Regions from separate parts of the Homo sapiens genome. Here region 1 is linked to region 2. The links are contacts of gene promoters, found by promoter capture Hi-C in human tissues and cell types (Jung and others, 2019). All regions are on one chromosome and are shown on one strand. Each heading gives the region's core, a stretch centred on a gene start or on the middle of the fragment in contact. The rest is flanking DNA. Distances are from core to core; before and after follow the strand shown. Region 1 overlaps LOC107984628 (a long non-coding RNA gene). Region 2 holds the start of NFKBIA (NFKB inhibitor alpha).

Region 1 (6,765 bases), core at 828-3,327, 710 kb after region 2:
GGAAATTTATAAATGTGGAAAGAAAAATATATTAAAAACATTTTTTTTTTTTTGAGATGGAGTCTCGCTCTTTTGCCCAGGCTGGACTGCAGTGGTGCTATCTCGGCTTACTGCAAGCTCCACCTCCCGGGTTCATGCTATTCTCCTGCCTCAGCCTCCTGAGTAGCTGGGATTACAGGCGCCCGCCACCGCACCCGGCTAATTTTTTGTATTTTTAGTAGAGACGGGGTTTCACCGTGTTAGCCAAGATGGTCTCGATCTCCTGACCTCATGATCCACCCGCCTCGGCCTCCCAAAGTGCTGGGATTACAGGCGTGAGCCACCATGCCCGGCATTAAAAACATTTTTAATGAAGATAACATTTTGATAGCATGAAATAAATCATTGACTAGGAAAATCATGTGTCGTATCTGAATTTAGATTTGTAAGCCGCTTTGCAGCAACATGTAACAATGGTTTCAATAGATAAGAAATTTTTAAAACTACCATAACTATAGCATCTTTGAAATGGAATATCCTATAGTTTAAAAAGTCATGGTTATATTTTCTGTTATTCTATGCTTTTGCTTTTACTGTAAAACTTGTCTGTCCACATATAAGCCATGGCCAAATTCCTCTATCAAATTTTTTTATGCATTTTTAATATCATGGAGATTAATACAGATTCTACATTGAGATGAATACTAAATTTAACTAGCATATTGTCAGCATTTCCCCATCTGGTGGAATTTTCAGAAACTTGATTTTTTTTTTTTTTTTTTTGAGACGGAGTCTTGCTCTGTCACCCAGGCTGGAGTGCAGTGTCCTGCTCTTGGCTCACTGCGACCTCCATCTCCCAGATGCAAGTGATTCTCCTCCCTCAGCCTTCCAAGTAGGTGAGATTACAGGCATCCACCATGATGCCCAGCTAATTTTTGTATTTTTAGTAGAGACGGGGTTTCACCATATTGACCAGGCTGGTCTCGAACTCTGACCTCAAGTAATCCACCTGCCTTGGCCTCCCAAAGTGCTGAGATTACAGGCACAAGCCGCCACACCCAGCCCCTGTATCAAATATTTTAGAAAGAAATTAATTTAGCAATGTTCTTTTATCACACAATCTGCTCGTTAGAGAAAACCTGGCCTACTCTTCGCTGGTGATAGAAAATGGAATTTTCAGGTCATTTAAAAGATCACGTTCTATTAAAGATGATTTTTAATCCTCACTAGTAAATACAAGCTATTTATAAACACAATGTTTACAACACAATGTTTATAAATACACAATTCCTTTCGCAAGTACCATCCAGAATCAAAGATTCCTCTTTTTTACCTCCTTGTAATTAACCATATTGTTTTTTCATCTTGCTTTTATGATAAATAAGTTCACTTTTCTGAGAGGCCTTGCACTCATCAGGAACCATTTATTGAGTGTCTATTTGTAGAACACTGTCCTGGTCATCCTGAGAAATAAACTTCTCAAGGGCACTTTTATAATCCAGTTGCAGAGACAAAATAGACCTGTAAACTAATAAGTATACAGTGATAAGCAATTGAATAAGCAGTAACGGAATGCAAGAAAAAAAACGGATCCAAAAGAGAAAAGATTTTCTAGAAGTGAGTTTTATTTTATTATTTATTTATTTTTTGAAACAGGGTCTTGCTCTGTCACTCAGGCCAGAGTGTAGTTGTGCCATCACAGCTCACTGCAACCTAAAACTGGGATCAAGTGATCCTCCCACCTCAGCCTCCTGAGTAGCTAGGACTATAAGTCCACCACTATGCCTGGCTAATTTTATATTTTATTTTTTTAGAGATGGGGTCTCACTTTGTTGCCCAGGCTGGTCTTGAACTCCTGGGCTCAAGCAATCCTCCTACCTCAGCCTCCCAAAGTGCTGGGATTATAGGCATGAGCCACCGCACCCAGCCTAGAAGTGAGTGTTAAACAGCACTTAGAGGAAATAAATGGCATTTCTCTTCAAATATCGAGTATTTATTTATTTACTTATTTATTTATTGAGACAGAGTCTCACTCTGTCCCCCAGGCTGGAGTGCAGTGGCTACATCTTGGTTCATTGCAAACTCTGTCCCCCAGGTTCAAGCGATTCTCATGCCTCACCGTCCCAAGTAGCTGGGACCACAGGCGTGCACCACCACGCCCAGCTGATTTTTGTATTTTTAGTAGAGACAGAGTTTTGCCATGTTGGCCAGGCTGGTCTTGAACTCCTGGCCTCAAGTGATCCACCCACCTTGGCCTCCCAAAGAGCTGGCATTACAGGCATGAGCCACTGAGCCCAGCCTAGAATTGTTATTTGAAATGTTCCAACAGGCTTTCTTCACTAAGAATCTCCTTAATATCAAGAACAAAAAGGGCCTTTTTATCACCACTTCCATTAAATCATTTGGGAGAAGGCCTAGGGCCAAAGTAAAAACCAACTGGGAGCTCTGTGTTCCACATGGGTATTGTCATGGAGGCATGAGTTTCTACAGGCCTTCCTAACCTTTTTCCAAAGATTCTTTGGGCATCTGGTAAAGACTACGAACTCCTCTTCAGAGTAATGTTTTTGAATAATATACATTTTTTACATTAAAAATAGTGTTGCTTAGTGCAACACTATTCTCCAGCGTTGGTGACAGAGTGAGACCCCTTCTCTTAAAAAATAAATAAGCACTTTTTAAATAGATAAATGAAAAAAAAACTGATTCTCTGCTTATCTTGAAAAAAAAAAGCACCTTTAAACTGATTTATTTTGTCTTAAGCACATTAACATACCATCAAGTTTATAACCCTGGAAATAGAGCTTGGAAATCAGTAGCATACAGTTAAAACCATGGAGCATCAATAAGACGCCCAGCAAAAATTTGTGAGTATCGTAGAAGAAGAGAAACAGTCCAAGAGTGGGCAAAGGAAGAGAAGCCTAGAAAAAGGAAAGAATTGTCAAAGAGGTAGGAGGAGAACATACCTTCTGTGATGTTACAAAGCAGAGGGTGCCAAATGCTGCAGAGATGTCACATATAATGGGGACAAAAAAATAATACACTGAATTTGGCCCTATGAAGGTCAGTGACCTTTCCTGTGGCATTTTCAGCAGGTGAAGGGCAGATACCAAATGGAAATGGCTTGAAGACTGAATAAGAGATGAAGCAGAACAGTGTGGTATAAACCAGTGCTTTTCAAACGTCTATGATGAAGCACATATTTAATTTTCAATCTGTCATAGATTGACAACAGGGTCCTACTGTTCATGACTAGTATGCAGCTTGCACCAGATGCAATGCATCCCTAGAGCTGGGCAACAACCAGATTGGTCTATAGTCTGTTCAACCTGACAAGTCCACTGGTTCCAGGTTTGGATGTCATGGCCAGGTCAAATGGCTGTAAAAGTTTCTAAATGCTTATTGTCAACTCTGTACAGTAGGAGAGGTTTTATTTTAAGAAGTTTATCTGTTGGGTTTCTTTGTTTTGTTTTGAGATGGAGTCTTGTTCTGTCGCCCAGGCTGGAGTGCAGTGGTGCAATCTTGGCTCACTGCAACCTCCGCCTCCCGGGTTCAAGCGATTCTCCTGCCTCAGCCTCCTGGGTAGCTGGGATTACAGGCACGTGCCACCACACCTGGCTAATTTTGTATTTTTAGTAGAGATGGGGTTTCTCCATGTTGGTCAGGCTGGTCTTGAACTCCCGACCTCAGGTGATCCGCCCGCCTCGGCCTCCCGAAGAATTTTTGTATTTTTAGTAGAGATGGGGTTTCACCATGTTGGCCAGGCTGGTCTCGAACTCCTGACCTCAGGTGATCCACCCGCCTCGGCCTCCCAAAGTCCTGGGATTGAAGGCATGAGCCACCGCGCCCCGCCAATAAGCTTATCTGTTAGGGAAGAGAGAGCAACAGGTACTCTCCAGGGCCTTGGAAGGAAGAGAGGTTTCTTTTTTCTTTTCTTTTCTTTTTTTTTTTTTTTTGAGATGGTGTTTTGCTCTGTCGCCCAGGCTGGAATGCAGTGGCACAATCTCGGCTCACTGAAACCTCCACCTCCTGTATTAAAGTAATTCTCCTGCTTCAGCCTCACAAGTAGCTGGGACTACAGGTGTGCACCACTATGCCCGGCTAATTTTTGTATTTTTAGTAGAGCTGGGGTTTCTTTCTTTTTTTCTTTTTGAGACAGTTTCACTTTTGTTGCCCAGACTGGAGTGCAATGGCATAATCTTGGCTCACTGCAACCTCCGCCTCCTGGGTTCAAGCGATTCTCCTGCCTCAGCCTCCCGAGCAGCTGGGATTACAGGCGCCTGCCAACACGCCTGGCTAATTTGTTGTATTTTTAGTAGAGATGGGGATTTCACCATGTTGGCCAGGTTGGTCTCGAACTCCTGACCTCAGGTGATCCACCCACCTCGGCCTCTCAAAGTGCTGGGATTACAGGCATGAGCCACTGTGCCCAGCTTTGAGACAGTGTTTCACCATGTTGGCAAGACTGGTCTTGAACTCCTGACCTCAAGTGATCCTCCCACCTTGGCCTCCCAAAGTGCTGGGATTACAGGCATGAGCCACCACGCCAGGTGACTACTTTCTCTGCGTATCTCCTAATGTTCTTCATGCTTTGCATTCTTTTCAACCCTTAATTTGGATCTCCAGCACCTAAAATAGTTTTTGGTACATAGAAGGCATTCAAATTAAAAGGTTTTTGAAGAAATGAATGAACTTTCATGTGAACGGTGGAGGAAGACGTCCTGTTTCTAGATTTTACAGTAGAAAATCCTGCCTTACTTAGCCTCTTTATTTTGCCTCTAGGCAGAGATTTCTCAGGGAGAAATCATCTGGGAGGCCCATCATCTTTTCATAGTCTTTGAGTGCATTAAAGTGTTCCCCTCTGTTTTCAAAAAAAAAATTTTTTTTATGGTGAAAAGATACACGTATATTTAGAACTAGCCAGCTGGACTCAATTTAGATGATACCAATTTTTTGGCAACATCCAAAACATCGTAATCAGGAGCCAGTCAAACATATGCCTTCTTCTCTCCACCAGGCCGAATCAGGGTGTTGACCTTGGCCGCATCAATGTCACAGAGCTTCTTCACAGCCTGTTTGATCTGCTGCTTGTTGGCTTTAACATCCACCGTGAACACAAGTGTGGTGTTGTCTTCTATCTTCTTCATGGCGGACTCAGTGGTCCACAGAAACTTGATGATGGCATAACGGTCAAGCTTGTTTCTCCTGGGGGCGCTATTCCGAGGATATTTGGGTGGCCTCGAGTCGCAGTGTCCTGGGCCTCCGGAAGGTGGGTGACGTGCGGGTCTTCTTTTTTTGTGTGGATGTGGACATCTTTCAACACTGCCGTCTTCGCCTTTAAAGCCTTTGCTTTGGCTTCGGCTTCGGCTTTAGGAGGGGCAGGCGCTTCCTTTTTCGCTTTTGGCGCCATCTTGTGAAAAGGGTCCTGTTTTCAAAAATTATATCACTGACCTTTGCTCAATAGGAACTGTACTTTGAGGTTTTTCTTTCAAAATTGGTAACGGATTTGCCTCTGGGTTTACCTTCCTTTCCCTCTTCGAGGGCATACATTAACAAAGGACTATCAGGTTTGGGACCATGCCATTGAAACGGGACAAGTTCCCTTGTCCCCCCTTGCAGGGCGTGCAGTGGGGGTGTGGCTCGCTTCTTCAGTGCTCCGATGCTCAGACTTCTAGAGGAGCCTACAGATGGGCAGGCTGTGGGGCTCCGACCCCACAGCAGTGTCTAGGGGTGAATATTTACAGCTCCTGAAGCCCCAGTGGGCGTGTGTTACAGGATGCTCTTTTAGTTTTGCTCTTTTAGTTTTGCTATCTCTAGGCAGCTTGTGTTAACCAGCTCAATTAGACCCTCTACCCTCTACCTTGTGGCAAGGACAGAGGGCTTTCTGTATCCCAGGTTCTTGCCTTGGTGTACCGGAAGAATCGGATCACAAGTGGGCTTGGAGAATGAGTGCAAGGTTTTATTGAGTTGAAGTAGCTCTCAGCAGATGGGGGAGCTGGTTTTCCCCTGGAATCAGACACGCGCTCCTTCGATTACCCTAGCCAAACTCCACGTTATTCTGCTGGTCAGTGGCCAGCCTGCATGCTGGTGCCTGGCGGTGCGTTCCTCTAGACGTCCAGCTGCCTGTGTATTCCTCCACCGAGGTACTCCTTTCCAGCTCCAGCTGCTTCTGTCTCTGCCTTGCTAGGGTCCCGGGTTTTTATAGGCACAGAATGAGGGCGTGGCAGGCCCAGGTGGTCTTAAGAAATGCAACATTTGGGCAGGAAATGCCTGACTACACCTTGGTCCCTGGGGGTGGAGCCCTAGCCAGGGACCACGCCCTCCTCTTCGGAGCACTTCCCTTCCCTTCTTCTGTGTCATTTAAAGGGACCAAGCTCTTCCCTTGCCAGCACTCTCCTTCCATATCACCATAACCACAGAAGAAAGAGAATTTACCTCCACAGAGCTCAAACCTTAATATTTTAGCGTAAAATATTTTAGCATGAAAGAACTCTAGTGGTTCATAAATCTCTTCACTTTCTTCTTTCTCTAACTGGACTGATTTTCAAACATCCCTCTTCTTTTCTCATCTAAAGCATTGCCCCTAGCCCAAGCAGTGGAACTCAAATCTGTCCCTGGAAAAAATGAGAATGGTGACATAAAATGTGAGCAATGGCTGGACGTGGTGGCTCATGCCTGCAATCCTAGCACTTTGGGAGGCTGAAGCAGTGGATCGCTTGAGCTCAAGAGTTCGAAACCAGCCTGGGCAACATGGTAAAACTCCATCTCTACAATAAATACGAAAATTGG
Region 2 (6,495 bases), core at 3,996-6,495:
ACAAGAGCAAAACTCTTGGTTTGTCTCAAAAACAAACAAACAAAACAAATAAATACTTGGTTTGAGGGAGGAAAAATTCACTTTTCAGAGGTTAGAGCCCCTAATCCTAACCCTGCCTGGCAGGAGCAGCCCTGCGCATCATGGATGGACACACTGTCCCAGTCTCCTGTTACACAGGAGCAGAGAACCCATGATGCCAAGAGCAGAAGGTTGTGCCTCTTGCAAAGCACAATTAAAACATCATACCTTGGCTGAAAAAGAGGTTGTAAACTCAGAGCTTATAGGCTCTGTTTAGCCAATAGATGCAGAAATGCATTGTGTTTAGTTTTCATAATGTTTTTATGTTTGTTTGAGGCAAGGTCTCACTCTTTTGCTGAGGCTGGAGCTCAGTGACACAGTCATGGCCCACTGTAGCCTCAACGTCCCAGGTTCGAGCAATCCTCCCACCTCAGTCTCCCAAGTAGGTGCGACTACAGGTGTATGCCACCACACCTGGTTAATTTTTTTATTTTTATTTTTATAGCGATGGGGTCTCACTATGTTGCCCAGGCTGGTCTCAAACTCCTAAACGCAAGTGATCCTCCTGCCTCACCCTCTCAAAGTGTTGGGATTGCAGGCATGAGCCACGGAGCTGGGCCAATTTTTTTTATTTCTTTAACAATAGAAGGTCACTACTGAACTGAAGGTGCTACATGCCAAAAGTTGTCTGAGCTAAGTATGAGGGAAGTACACACCCTGACCTAAGCTGTTGGAGATCCCACTCCTTTCAGACTCAAATGGTCTGTTTCACTCATCTGTGAAATCTGCCTGCTCCCTATGCGTAAGTATTTTGAGTTTGAGATCCTTTAAAGCTTTGATCTCCATTAAATTGCAGAATTTGTAGCAAAGGAAACACATTAAGGATTTGACGGTCTTATTTTCACTTCACTACAAATGAAGGTTCTGACAGCTGTTTTTCCTTTTTTTTTTTTTTAATTGAGACAGAGTCTCTCTCTGCTGCCCAGGCAGGAGTGCAATGGCACGATCTCAGCTCACTGCAACCTTCACCTCCCAGGGTCAAGTGATTCTCCTGCCTCAGCCTCCCGAGTAGCTGGGATTACAGGCATGTGCCATCACGCCTGGCTAATTTTTGTATTTTGAGTAGAGATGGGGTTTCACCATGTTGGCCGGGCTGGTCTTGAACTCCTGACCTCAGGTGATCAGCTCGCCTCAGCCTCCCAAAGTGCTGGGATTATAGGTCGGAGCCACCGCCCCCAGCCTTGTTTTTCTATGGGAAAAGATCCATAGCTTGGGGGCTCCCTGTTCTGAAGAGGATGCAGACAGTTGCTACCACGATAGCAAGAAAGAAGACAACCTGAGACTGAAAGCAGAATATTTAGAATTTCACAGTGGGGCTGCCAGTTGGGAGTGCACCTGCCTTGCTCTTCAGGAACTCTGTCATGGCTCGTCTTTCTTCCAGCCTAGCTGCACTGAGCAATAGGTAGCCTGATTCCAGAGTTGAATTTGCTGTAGCCAAAACAATTTAGTTTTAATTGGCCAGGCCAGTTGACACAGGCCACCCTGCCCTGAGGATTTTGGACCACCTGGCTGAACTTGTAGACTCTCTCCATGGCACTTCAGGCAATAGGTTTTGTCCATACTGTGCTTGTTCCATGCAGGAGGAGTGCCTGAAGTGCCTGCAGCCAAACCAGGCCCTGGCGATGCTCCTTTTCCCATGGGGGTGCTCCTGGAGCATCACTGGCCGTCCTGTCATTTCCTACGGCTGCGTCCTGGGCCAAAATACAAAGCAGCTTTGAGGTGTAACTTATTATTTTGCCTTATGCATTAAAAAGGCCAAATAACATTAAAAATCAGTTATCTAAAGTATTTTGTTTTGTTTTGTTTTGTTTTTTGAGACAGAGTCTCACCCTGTTGCCCAGGCTGGCGTGCAATGGCGCGATCTCGGCTCACTGCAACCTCTGCCTCCTCGGTTCAAGTGATTCTCCTGCCTCAGCCTCCTAAGCAGCATCTGCACCACCACACCCGACTAATTTTTTGTATCTTTAGTAGAGACGGGGTTTCATCATGTTGGCCAGGCTGGTCTCGAACTCCTGACCTCATGATCCACCTGCCTCAGCCTCCCAAAGTGCTGAGATTATAGGCGTGAGCCACTGCGCACAGCCTACAGTTTTAACATTTTTTTTAACGGTTATGTTAGCTAGAATGTTTGACAATGAGGAGGAGAAAAATCTGAGTGCTGAAGGGTCCATAAAGGTCTTTCTTTTTCTTTTTTTTCTTTTTGAGACAGGGTCTCAGTCTGTTGCTCAAGCTGGAGTGCAGTTGTGCCATCATGGCTCACTACAAACTCCACCTCCCAGGCTCAAGCAATTCTCCCACTTCTGCCTCTGGAGTAGCTGGGACTACAGGCACCTGCCACCACACTCTGCTAATTATATTTTTTGTAGAGACAAGAGTTTAGCCTTGTTGCCCAGGCTGGTCTCCAACTCCTGGGTGGCAAGCAATCCTCCTGCCTCAGCAACCCAAAGTGCTGAAATTACAGCAGTGAGCCACAACTCCTGGCCCATAAAGGTCTTTCTAAATCAAAACCAGACCCTCTTGTTGTCTTCTGCCCAGTCTGCTCATGGTTCTAATTTCCAAGTGTATATTCTTTTTCACCCACGTTGTAATGTTTGTTGACTTAAACCATATAGCGCTATAGATGATGGGGAGAAAACCTGTTGGATCACATTATTCAAAACTGTTTCCCAGAGTCGCAGGAAAACAATAGGTACCTCCTTGGAAATCTCCACTGTAGGGACAAGTCATCAAGGCTCAGCACCTCCCAATTTTTGCAAAAGGCACTATGACAAATCAAGGAACGCCTGTGCCTTACTCTTACCACTAGGTGTCACACAAAACAATCAGGAATAAACACCAAGATCCTGAAGGCTACCAGAAATATAAAACCATAGAAGGTGGTGCAAAAAAACCTTATTCCTCAGATATTTTTATTTTTTATAACCATTTTTATACCTGAAGCCAAATATCTTCTTCTGATGTATCCTCTATAATTGGGACATTTAGAGTTTGATGTTTCTGTACTTGTTTAAAAGAAGTGACTATCCCCAGATGGGGGTCAGGGGACACCCACCCTTTATTTTCCCTAACAGTTGGAGTAGAAAATACTTTTGAGTACATTCCAAATTATAGTGTAGTCAGTCTGATTTTCACAGCGTGTTTTCAAAAGTGTTAATACTAAGACTGCTTTGGCCAAATGATTAATATACTGCCAAGGGGTTCCTGGGTAAATTTCTATGCATTTCAGTTTCTTTTTAGGGAAGTAGGAACAATATCTATCTTACAAGATTAGTTCTGAGAACAATGTGGTACATAAGGCGCTGGAATTCTTTCAAAAATTTATACCCTGACATTTCCAAGAGCCATGGTCACCCTTACAAAGGAGAGTTAGGCATGCATTTGTAGACAAGCAATATGACTTTTAAGCTAGAAAAGACCTTAAGTAACATTCAATCTAATCTTATTATAAAAGTTAAGTATACCACAAAAAAGTTAACTGACCTCTCCAACTAATGTGCAGTCAAGTAAAGATAGAACCTGGAATTGAGATGTCCCATTGCAGTCACTGTTTCACCTTGCCTCAATCATTGTAGATTTGCATATCATAAACCTGCAGAGACAATGGTGTCTATCCCTGGGAAGTTTTCATTGTAACATGTGATCATTATTACCCTGGAGGGTCTATCTGATTTTAATTTTTTTCCCTTCATACTTGGTCTCTCTCTATCGAGTCAGATTTCTTTCATTCTAATATTAGGGGAGGGGTGGAGATACGAAGAGAGGGGAAGGATTGGTTAGTACAAGGCCAGTCAAGGTAAAGATGATTGCAATAATCACCAGAAATCTCTGCAGAACTACAGAGGCCTCCTGGGACTAATTCTGAAGAGCTCTGACCGAAGTTTGCTTTATTTTGCCTGTACCAATTCTACCAAGTAGATGAATTCAGTCCATGGCTTGCAGGCTTGGAGGTGGAGGTGGAGTGGAGAGCATAAATTATATTTCTGCAGGTGAAACCAGAGCATAGTGAGCCGAAACCCCTTTCTACCCAGGTGGCGTGAATGGGTCCAACTGCTACTGTCCCCCAGGACAAGAGAGCAAGGAGGGGCGGGCAGGATGGGACTACCTTGAGCCTCCCGCAGGATGCCTGGCAACTACTTTCTTAGTGGTCCTTAAGGTCCAATCGCGGTTAAGGCACTAACTAAACTCATTCTTCAGCCTCCTTCTCTAAGTTCTCCTCGAATTTGGGTGCCCAGAAGTAGGCTCACGATCCTTTTTCTGCGGGAGCACAATGTAGGTCAGATAGCATAAACGAATAGCTACTTATGAACACAATAGCTACTCTGCTATTGCAAGGTATCCACAACCACCACTACAAACATTAACACCTTGCTTTACTTGGGAAACAAAAAAAATCATGGTCCTATTCAGCAGTTTCCCCATACAGGGAGCGTTTGCCCCTCCCCCAGTCAACAGGGCTGTTCATCCCTAGGAAGTGATTTGAGAGTTCTCCAAGGATTTAGGCTTTTCACTCCTCCAAAGCTTTCACAACTTCTACCTGGCGGGGGTGCGTGGGGGGGTGGGGGCGAAGCTAAAAGTTCCTTTGCTGCAAAGAGCCTGGTATAGGCAGAAACACCGGCGCGGCCTGCAGCCCCCTAACCACAGTGCGTCCTTCCCCTTAGAAGTCTGGGGAAAGCAAATCCCTACGCCCAGCCATCATTTCCACTCTTGCGTTTTCAAAAGATCAAAAAACGGAAAGGACCGGCAGGTTGGCAAACCCCAAAGAGGGACCGCCCATCAGGTCGGCGTCCTTGGGATCTCAGCAGCCGACGACCCCAATTCAAATCGATCGTGGGAAACCCCAGGGAAAGAAGGCTCACTTGCAGAGGGACAGGATTACAGGGTGCAGGCTGCAGGGAAGTACCGGGGGGAGGGGGCCTGGTCGGAAGGACTTTCCAGCCACTCGGCGCTCATCAAAAAGTTCCCTGTCCGTGACCCTAGTGGCTCATCGCAGGGAGTTTCTCCGATGAACCCCAGCTCAGGGTTTAGGCTTCTTTTTCCCCCTAGCAGAGGACGAAGCCAGTTCTCTTTTTCTGGTCTGACTGGCTTGGAAATTCCCCGAGCCTGACCCCGCCCCAGAGAAATCCCCAGCCAGCGTTTATAGGGCGCCGCGGCGGCGCTGCAGAGCCCACAGCAGTCCGTGCCGCCGTCCCGCCCGCCAGCGCCCCAGCGAGGAAGCAGCGCGCAGCCCGCGGCCCAGCGCACCCGCAGCAGCGCCCGCAGCTCGTCCGCGCCATGTTCCAGGCGGCCGAGCGCCCCCAGGAGTGGGCCATGGAGGGCCCCCGCGACGGGCTGAAGAAGGAGCGGCTACTGGACGACCGCCACGACAGCGGCCTGGACTCCATGAAAGACGAGGAGTACGAGCAGATGGTCAAGGAGCTGCAGGAGATCCGCCTCGAGCCGCAGGAGGTGCCGCGCGGCTCGGAGCCCTGGAAGCAGCAGCTCACCGAGGACGGGGACTCGTAAGTGGCGGAGGCCCGGGGCTGGGGGTCGTCGGGAGGGCGGGACGCGCGCGGCCTGGGGGTGGGAGGCGCCGGGCCTGGAGCCCGAGCCGGGGGACCAGCGATGCAGCCGGGCGGGCGCCGCGGCACCCCGGGGCTCCTGCACCGCCCCGAACGCTGCAGGGCTGCAGGGCCGCGCGGGGCACCGGCCCAACTCGGAGGGGCGGCGGCTGGGCCCTGGTGGATGGCAGCGTCGCCACACGCCCCCTCCCCCCAGACCCGTCCTCTAGGCCGGGGGCGGGGCGGCAGCGGGGACGCGAAGTCCCCGGTTGCATAAGGCGGGGCGGGAGTTTCTGGCCGCTGGCGGGCGCCGAGCAGCCGGGAGGGGAAGTACAGGGCGTTCCGAGCTGGCGGGAGGGCGGGGCGGTCTGGCCGGCGCCCGCCGGGGCCGCGGGGGGAGGGGGGCGGAAAGTCCCTGGGCGCCTGCCAGGAACACTCAGCTCATAATAACCTCGCGGAAAACACCGCGGCCTCGGCCTCCAGAAACCCCGGCCTTGCGCAATCCCCCGCAGCCCGCGCCTCCCTGGGCCCCACGCGGTGCACTCACCACCCCTGGGGTTTTTCCCTCTCTTCCCCACAGGTTCCTGCACTTGGCCATCATCCATGAAGAAAAGGCACTGACCATGGAAGTGATCCGCCAGGTGAAGGGAGACCTGGCCTTCCTCAACTTCCAGAACAACCTGCAGCAGGTGCGCCGCTTGCCTGGCCCGGGTTCTCTCTGACCCTGGGACGTAGCTGATGTAGCAGAGTCACCCCAGATCCTTTCTGAATTCAGGGCCACTGAGCACTATTTACCCTCACCTTTTACTTCACATCAGCCCACATCCTAGAGAGTGAAGGAAATTCCACTGATTTGGTGAGGTCTTTATGACCCACCTGG

What was found. Contacts are between HindIII fragments. The study calls those that stand out against the background at their distance.
Region 1: a fragment that was not itself captured here is called in contact with the fragment with the promoter of NFKBIA in region 2 in 1 of the 25 tissues and cell types used here (dorsolateral prefrontal cortex).

Annotation. Positions count from the first base shown.
Region 1 is chr14:34,692,791-34,699,555 of GRCh38, reverse strand. It overlaps LOC107984628 (a long non-coding RNA gene), which reads left to right. Exons shown (of 3, transcript XR_001750947.2): 2 at 4,994-5,245; 3 at 6,552-6,672. It also overlaps the pseudogene RPL23AP8. Among named protein-coding and RNA genes, the nearest start is that of CFL2, 18 kb to the left of the region's middle. The HindIII fragment of the contact is 4,852 bases long and covers 1-4,503 here.
Region 2 is chr14:35,403,499-35,409,993 of GRCh38, reverse strand. NFKBIA (NFKB inhibitor alpha) reads left to right here and starts at 5,245. Exons shown (of 6, transcript NM_020529.3): 1 at 5,245-5,576; 2 at 6,196-6,304. The coding sequence starts at 5,350. RefSeq lists enhancers at 2,747-2,806, 4,784-5,183, 4,388-5,259, 6,364-6,413, 6,444-6,495 and silencers at 5,254-5,423, 5,574-6,163. The HindIII fragment of the contact is 5,540 bases long and covers 2,725-6,495 here.